Regions from separate parts of the Homo sapiens genome. Here all the other regions are linked to region 1. Evidence: promoter capture Hi-C in 16 types of primary human blood cells and fetal thymus (Javierre and others, 2016). All regions are on one chromosome and are shown on one strand. Each heading gives the region's core, a stretch centred on a gene start or on the middle of the fragment in contact. The rest is flanking DNA. Distances are from core to core; before and after follow the strand shown.

Region 1 (2,700 bases), core at 148-2,647:
GGGAGACCCTGTCTCTACTTTAAATTTATATTAAATAAATTTTATATTTAAAAAAATTCGTAAAACCTATAAGGAAAATGGACAAAGGCCATAAACAGAGGAGGAAATACAAATGGCCAGTGAACAAAGACACCCACTCTCATCAGGAACTAAATGACAAGATGCCATTTTGAGCTGACAAGTTGACAAAAATTAAATCATTTTAAAGTCAAGGACGGGCCGGGCGCGGTGGCTTGCCTGTAATCCCAGCACTTTGGTCCGCCATTGCACTCCGGCCTGGGCAACAGAGTGAGACTCGGTCTCAAGAAAAAAAAAAGAAAAAAAATTAAATTAAATTAAATTAAGTCAAGGGTGGGAACTCTGTGGAAATGAAGCTTCTGAAGCTGTCCGGGAAGAGAAGCGGCCCCTGGTCAGGCCGAGAACCCCACAGCAGCAGCCCCGTCTTCCCCCAGCTCACTGCTAGGCGAGGCTGCTCCTGCGCCTCCGGGCTTCCCAAAAATCCAGACGCAAACTGCGCGGCCTCTGCGTTCGCTTCCCGGTTCAAGTTACCCAGTAAAGAGGAACCTCAAACGCTCTGCCCTCGGGGCCCAGCGTCCAAACCCAGCCTGGGCAGGGCCGGCTCCTCAGGGGTCCTCGGCCGCCTGGGGGCCACAGGCGTCTCCCTGGTCCGTATCCAGAGCCTGCTTCTCAGGAGAACGCTGGCTCTGGGGCCAGTCCTAACCCACGAGGGCTCCTCTCGACCACATCTGCAAAGGCCCTATTTCCAAATAAGGTCGCATTCCTGGGTCCTGGGCGGACACGAACCTGGGGCCCGCGCATCCCAGCGTCGTCGCCGCCGCCAACCTCCGGCACCGCGCCGACCCGCGCGGAGTCTCCCCTCCATCATACGCGAGGATTTCCCTTTGGAGTCTCGCTCTGTCGCCCAGGCTGGAGTGCAATGGCGCCATTTCGGCTCACTGCAACCTCCGCCTCCGTGGTTCAAGCGATTCTCCTGCCTCAGCCTCCGAGTAGCTGGGATTACAGGCGCGTGCCCCCACGCTCAGCTAATTTTTGTAGGGGGGTGGGTGGGTTTCACCAGGTTGGCCAGGCTGGTCTCGAACTCCTGACTTCAGGTGATCCACCCGTCTCGGCCTCCCAAAGTGCTGGGATTACAGGCGTGAGCCACCGCGCCCGGCCGGATTTCCCTTTTAAATGTGAAGGCACCTCCATGCTCATCGCGAGCCTGACGTCCACGCGGCGCCCACCCGCGGGCGCGCCTGCCCCGGGCGCCACCTGCCCGGCTGCCCCCGCACCCGGCTCCGCGCAGCTCTGCACGCTGTCGCCCTCCGGCCAGCAGGGGGCGCCGCCCGCCCGCCCCGCGCAGCCGCCTCTTCCCCGGAAGTCCCGCCTCGGCCGGAAGTCGTGCGTCCACGCGTTTCGAAAGATGGCGGCGTCCAGGAGCGCGGGAGAGGCCGGCCCGGGCGGCTCCCAGGGACGCGTGGTCCGCATGAAGCGCAGAGGCGGGCGCGGGCCGCGCCGCGGTCCTGCTGGCGGTGGGGAGAAGGCCCTGAAGAGGCTGAAGCTAGCGGTGGAGGAGTTCGTGCACGCGACTTCGGAAGGCGAGGCTCCCGGGGGTTGCGAGGGGCGCGGCGCCCCGGTGAGCTTTCGCCCGGGAGGGAGAAAAAGCCGTAAGGAACTGAGGAAGGAGAAGCGGCACCTGCGGAAAGCACGCCGGCTGCAGAGGACGGCGGGCCCCGAACAGGGTCCCGGCCTGGGAGGCCGAAGCGGAGCCGAAGAAGCCAGCGGTCACCGGCAGGACACGGAGGAGCGCGCCCGCCCAGCCCCTAGTCGGGACCCCTCGCCTCCCAGGAAGCCGCGGCCGTCCCGGGTCAAGGCCAAGGCCACGGCCGCCACCGCAAAGACCAGACCCTCCGCAGCCGCCACCGCCGCTGCCCGGAAACGGGCGCTTTTAGCGGCGAACGAGGAGGAGGACCGAGAGATCCGAAAGCTGGAGCGTTGCCTCGGTTTGAACAAGCGCAAAAAGAAGGACGGCAGCAGCTCCGTGCCGCTGAGCTTTGCACGCGACGGTCTTGACTATATTCTGGGAGCCCTGGAGTCTGGGAAAAATAGCGGCTTGTACGACAGCAGTGGTGAGGAGGAGGAAGATGCCGGACAGACACTCCCCGAAAGTGACTTAGAGAGTGACTCCCAGGACGAAAGTGAGGAGGAGGAGGAGGGAGACGTAGAAAAGGAAAAGAAGGCGCAGGAAGCAGAAGCGCAGAGCGAGGACGACGACGAGGATACAGAAGAGGAACAGGGGGAAGAAAAGGAAAAGGGAGCGCAGGAGAAAAGGAGGGGGAAGAGAGTCCGTTTTGCAGAAGATGAAGAAAAGAGTGAAAATTCCTCGGAGGACGGTGACATAACGGATAAGGTATCGTGTGAACACTCTCTAGGCCCTCTGGGATTTCCTTCAAAATAACGGGACAGGGAATGGGGCGTGAGGCAGAAATGACACAGACTTGGTGTCTTGATAATGGTTTCAGCTGAATGTGAGTAAATCGAGTACGTTACTCTATTCGGTCTTCTTTCATGTTTTTAAATTTTCATAATGTAAAGTTTAGGAGAAAAGCAATATAGAGACATTTTTATCCCGGGGACTTAAGGGCCATTTCCACAGTGCAGCATCTTCATTCTGTGTTTACCAGCCCAGGTCTCTAAACC
Region 2 (2,700 bases), core at 133-2,632, 260 kb after region 1:
CCATGTTTGGAGAAAGATGTCAAGCTAGACTTTAGGAAGGGCCCATTAATGCTTGCACTTAACCTGATGGGCTAATTAAGGAATGCTTATTCATCCTCCAAGTCCACGAGAGTCTCTCTCCAGCCCGTTCTGCCTGGTTTTACAACACATTTCTCTTAGGAGCATGAGCATTAGCAGCAGCAGCCGTAACTGATAATGTTTTGATTGCACTGAATACAGTCCTAATGCATCGTTGAATTTATAATTTGGGCAGATTGATGTAATATATGTTTGCACAATTTATTTTAATTACCTATTTCTGTATTCCTAAGTAAACTGGGACGGTCACATGGTAAGCCTTTACTATATCCTTTCTTAAAGATTGACAAATTTGCAATTTTTCTATGTTAAAAAATAAGCAGTCTCACCTATTTAAAACTTATAATTCTTACATAAGCTTTTCCTGGATGTGGGTGTTAACGGTAGCATATTTGTTTTCCTTTCAATATTTGATTAAACCCTGGGGTCTTTGTTAATAAAGCTTTCCATGATGTGCAATATCAGGTGTTGTGTATGATATCAGATAATTTCACTGTTTTATGGCATCTGTTGAGAGTTTCATAATTTCCATGACAGGCTTATCTTTAGTATGTAGAAATCTCTGAACTTAATAATGCCATATAAGATATTTTCCACCCTGGCCTTATTTTGTTTTGGTTAAGCGTTAAATGAAAAGTTTGTACAGAATTTTTTTATGCCTCAAAATGACTCCCTGCCACTTTATTCATCATTGAAAGTTTTAAGAGTTAGGGCAAGGCCGGGTGTGGTGGCTCACGCCTATAATCCCAGCACTTTGGGAGGCCAAGGCGGGTGGATCACGAGGTCAGGAGTTTGAGACCAGCCTGGCCAAGATGGTGAAACCCCATCTCTACTAAAGATACAAAAAATTAGCTGGGCGTGATGTACGCCTGTAATCCCAGCTACTAGGGAGGCTGGGGCAGGAGAATTGCTAGAACCCGGGAGGCAGAGGTTGCAGTCAGCCGAGATAGCGCCACTGCACTCCAGCCTGGGCGGTAGGGTGACTCTCTCTCCAAAAAAAAAGAGGGTGAAAATTTACCTTTTTTTTGTTGGTGGTGGTGATTGTTTTAGGTTTGAAATCAAGTTGTTGTAAGACCTTTTGAGTTTAGAATTGTTTAAAGACCTTTTTTTTTTTAAAGGATTTCTGTTCTTTGGTCACCTGTCCCCCAAACCATTTTATGCTACCTGCTATTGAGCTGAGCCCCCAAAATAAAAATCACTGCATAATTTTTGAGTAATCAGCTGCTGTTAGCTGTTCTTTTAAGAAAATACTATCTCTATTATGAAGTTGTATGAACTTACACCTCTGTAGTTAACTGTGTTTTAGGCAGTATTCTAAGAGTTTTGCATATATTCATTTAATACAATAGTTCTGTGAGAAAGATACTATAATTTGTTTTACAGATGAGGTCATGTATATGATGGTAGAACCAGCTGCTATTCTACACTCCCCTTCTGAAAAGAATACAAATTGTATCAGCATTTTTCATATTATTGTTGTGCCAAATTTGAGTTGAAGAATTCGAGGTAGAATCAACCAAAGAACGCAGAAGCGTTTAGCCCATGATCTCCTGCCTTCCATTGATTTTGACAGAATTGCAAACGATGAGACCTGACTCCTTCAACACCGACCATTTTCATTTTTCAGTCCTATCATGGTCCTCCCAAAGTCATTTGTGTGAGAGGCTCTGCTGGCTGGTCACAGAGCATAGAATTTTAAGTGGATAGAGTCATCTTTCTTTGTCACTGTAAGAATTGAGGTCACTTTCTAAGCCCTGTCTTGACACTGCTAAAACAGTTTATGCATTTATCAAATTTATAAACTCCTCTTGAAGTGTAATTTAGAGCTATAATTACTTTAGCTTGATGAGATAGGAAATCCTGTTTTGAGATGTCTGTGTGCATCCACCAAACTTAACAGGAGTTTCCTCCTGTGATAGGGAAACAGGAGGAAGTGGCAGGGAATGAGGAGGAAGGTTCCCATGCCCTCATTATCCATATGTCTGGAGAGAGAGAGAGAGAGAGAGAGAGAGCCATACTATGAGTGATTTTTTTACTTCCTTAGTGGTTAAGTTGTATTTTTTCAGTTCCAAAAAGCTATTTTTAAAAAGTAATAAAGCAACAGCAGTGCCCTGTTAATATAATCCTAACATGCGACCATTTGACTATGTTACAACCAAGAGATCCAAAGCTTGTAGCGCTGTGCCTTATCCTTTTCTGTTATTGAAGATTTTGATTGATTTTGTTTTTGTTTTTTGACTACTAAAGTGGATGCTATATGCAGTAATTTTATAGTGTTTTAAATATGTGCTGAAGAATACTGTTTTTCAAAATACTCCAGTTTTTAACCCGTTTGTGCCAGAGGTTGCGAATTTTTTGTGTGAAAAATCAGGCCTTGGCAATGACCTTGAGCAGTAGAATATAAATCCCACAAGCTTAGCGTTCCAGTAATGGAACACTAGGCATAAATGGGTTAACAAGTGGTAACTAAGGGCTATATAAAATTTGGTTAACCCTTGACAGCAGCAGTGCATACCAGATACTTCATGACTTTCATAGGTTAGAGTGTTTTATTCTCAGTTATTTGAACACTCACAGTATTCATCCCACCCATAGTGACACAGCTCTATGCTAAGGGATCAT
Region 3 (2,700 bases), core at 89-2,588, 430 kb after region 1:
TGCCCGCGGTCGGAGCCCCACGGGAGCATTGTAGCACGCGCTGTATGGTTGTGCGTTGTAGCGTGCGCTGTATAGTTGTGATGCCCACAGGCTTCCTTGCATTTCTCTCCAGCTCTGCTAGCCACGAACACTTCAAGTCTGCACTTCACATGCTTGCTTGCCTGTGCATGGTTACGCACGCTCAGCAACTTAGTTCCACGTTTTGGGATGAGTTGAGTTCCCTGACGTAGAATTGCTGGGTTGAGGGTTTTTTATAATAAAAATATTGGTTTTATTTTGGGGGCTGAAGGTTTTAAAAGCTTAATACATACTTCTAGATTGCTTTTCAAAACGACAGAAACCAGCACATGATAAGTAGCTCTTACTTGAAATAAGGACTTGTCTGATCTCAAGTGGCAACTTTTAACTGGTCTTTAAATATTATAAATTTTGAAATTATTTTAATGTTTCTTAGCACTGTTTCTGTTACAAATGAGACTTCATTTTTAGGGTAATTTGTGATTTTAATATTTGAAATTATACGAGTTAAAATTCAGTGAATACCTGAATTGTGAAAAATTATATTTAAGCTACAAAATGTCAGTAGAGAAATAAACAAGATAAAGATTTTTTTCATACAAGAAAATGGAACGGAAAAGCATTGGCCTTCTCATAACATAGTACTCAGCCAGCTTTTGAGGTAGCTTCTGTAGATGATGATATAATTATGAATGTCATTGTCTTAATTTAGCTTAGAATGCAAACCAGTTAAAATCACTTGGTTAGTACTGTTACCACTGAGACACGGGTTCAAGATGCATGTAAAAGCTCAGTGCCTTGTGGACAACTTCTAAGGGTTTAGTTGCCATGGATTTAAAGAAATTGTGACTAAACCAATGTTTTAGCATTGATAAATGGGAAATTGCGGAAGGATGTAAACGTAGAGTTTAACTCTACAACTTGGCTTAGGGACTCAGGTATGGACAGTGAGAATAACTTGGTTTAGGGACTCAGATATGGACAGTGAGACTGGCCACATGAGTGCCTTTCTCACTGTCACACTCTTACCCAGGTTGGAGTGCAGTGGCTGTCGACAGGTGTGATCATAGCTCCCTGCAGCCTTGAATTCCTGGGCTCAAGCAGTCCTGCCTCAGCCTCCCAAGGAGGTGGGACTAAAGATGGTGTGCCACCACACCTGGCTAATTTTTAAATTTATTGTAGAGAAGGGGTCTTGCTATGTTGCCCAGGTTGGTCTTGAACCCCTGACCTCCAGGGATCTCTCCTGCCTTGGCCTCCTCAGGAGCTGGAACTACAGATATATGCTAATGTCTTCAATTTATGGAAATGCAGAAATGCCTTTTTTTTTTTTTTTTTTTTTTTTGAGATGGACTCATGTTCTGCTGCCCAGGCTGGAGTGCTGTGGTGTGATCTTAGCTCACTGTATCCTCCACCTCCGGGGTTCAAGCAATTTTCGTGCCTCAGCCTCCTGGGTGGCTGAGACTACAGATGCCCACCACCACTCCTGGCTAACTTTTTTGTATTTTTAGTAGAGACAGGGTTTTACCATGTTGGCCAGGCTGGTCTCAAACTCCTGACCTCAAGTGATCTGCCCGCCTCGGCCTCCCAAAGTACTGGGATTATAGCTGTGAGCCACTGCACCCTCCCGGAAATGCTTTTTAACGGTCACCTCCTAGGGGAGATGAAGAGAGTTACCGCATAATCAGTTTTAACTGTATTTGTAATGTTTGTTTCTTTACCTGGGAGGATATGTTGTAGATACGTGAGATAGAATACCTAAGTGACACAATGGTGTGCAGGCTATGGCTGCAAAGTAGAAAGTTTCTAAATAGCATGCTTGGATTTTTATTTGAATTGGATGAAGTTTTTGTGTCCTAGAGAAATTCACAAAATGTTCCTAGTTTCAGATAAAAGGTTATGATTTAACATCTTTGCTTTTGTTCTTTCTTGTCTTTGAATAGAACAGTGGGGGACGGTAAGGTCTGTTTGCAAAGTACCTATGACCATCTTACATTATTTTTATGGGTGGGGGGCATTGACTGTGGAATGTGGGCAGTAACTTGCACAGTCAGTAACCGTTTGAGTAACTTCTTGTTGGCATCCCCATTCTGGCACTCCTCCTCTAGGTCTCCACCTCACACGCTGGTTTGTGGGCGGAGGGGCAGGTTGGTGCGTGGGGTGTCCGGGCACTGGCTGTGCATGCCTTCTTCCTCTTCTGTCTCTTGGCCACCTTTTCCAAAAAGTCACCAGTGACCAATTCTCCCAGTGTTTCTTTGGGACTCAATGCCTTGGGCTTGGCATTGGGTAAAGCCAACTGGCCAGTTTCATTCTGACGAGCTCTATAGTAGTCCGGTGTGGACCTCTGCCCTCCCTGCTCTGCGGAAGCTTCCTCAGCCTTTGCTTCTCACTATTTACTATTTGCGGGTCCTGGGGGTACCCAGCGTCTCAGGGTTTTGGCTGCCCACCTGTACGTCGGTCCTTTCAAACTGTGGTCAGAGTCAACCTCAGGTGCTGCTTTTCTCTAGTCACTGCATTTTTTTTTTTTAGTAGAGACAAAGTCTTGCTGTGTTGTCCAGCCTGGATTCAAACTCCTGAGCTCAAGGAATCCTCCCACTCAGCCTCCAGAGTAGCTGGATCAAGTCACTCTTGTTCATAACCTCAGTTGCTTCATGAATCTCGATTTCTGCTTGATTTCAGTGCTTG

What was found. The method cuts DNA at HindIII sites, captures the fragments that hold promoters and counts their contacts. A CHiCAGO score of 5 or more calls a contact.
Region 2: a contact is called between a fragment that was not itself captured here and the fragment with the promoter of NOM1 in region 1, in 1 of 17 cell types (megakaryocytes). The highest score is 6.5, in megakaryocytes.
Region 3: a fragment that was not itself captured here is called in contact with the fragment with the promoter of NOM1 in region 1 in 1 of 17 cell types (total CD8 T cells); the score reaches 5.6 in total CD8 T cells.

The regions. Positions count from the first base shown.
Region 1 is chr7:156,948,315-156,951,014 of GRCh38, forward strand. NOM1 (nucleolar protein with MIF4G domain 1) reads left to right here and starts at 1,398. Exons shown (of 11, transcript NM_138400.2): 1 at 1,398-2,410. The coding sequence starts at 1,424. RefSeq lists an enhancer at 550-1,078 and silencers at 1,139-1,488, 1,769-1,818. The HindIII fragment of the contact is 6,978 bases long and covers 373-2,700 here.
Region 2 is chr7:157,209,105-157,211,804 of GRCh38, forward strand. All of the region lies in intron 13 of UBE3C (ubiquitin protein ligase E3C), which reads left to right. Among named protein-coding and RNA genes, the nearest start is that of UBE3C, 72 kb to the left of the region's middle. The HindIII fragment of the contact is 1,728 bases long and covers 519-2,246 here.
Region 3 is chr7:157,378,470-157,381,169 of GRCh38, forward strand. The region is part of intron 5 of DNAJB6 (DnaJ heat shock protein family (Hsp40) member B6); the gene reads left to right. Among named protein-coding and RNA genes, the nearest start is that of DNAJB6, 43 kb to the left of the region's middle. The HindIII fragment of the contact is 2,083 bases long and covers 298-2,380 here.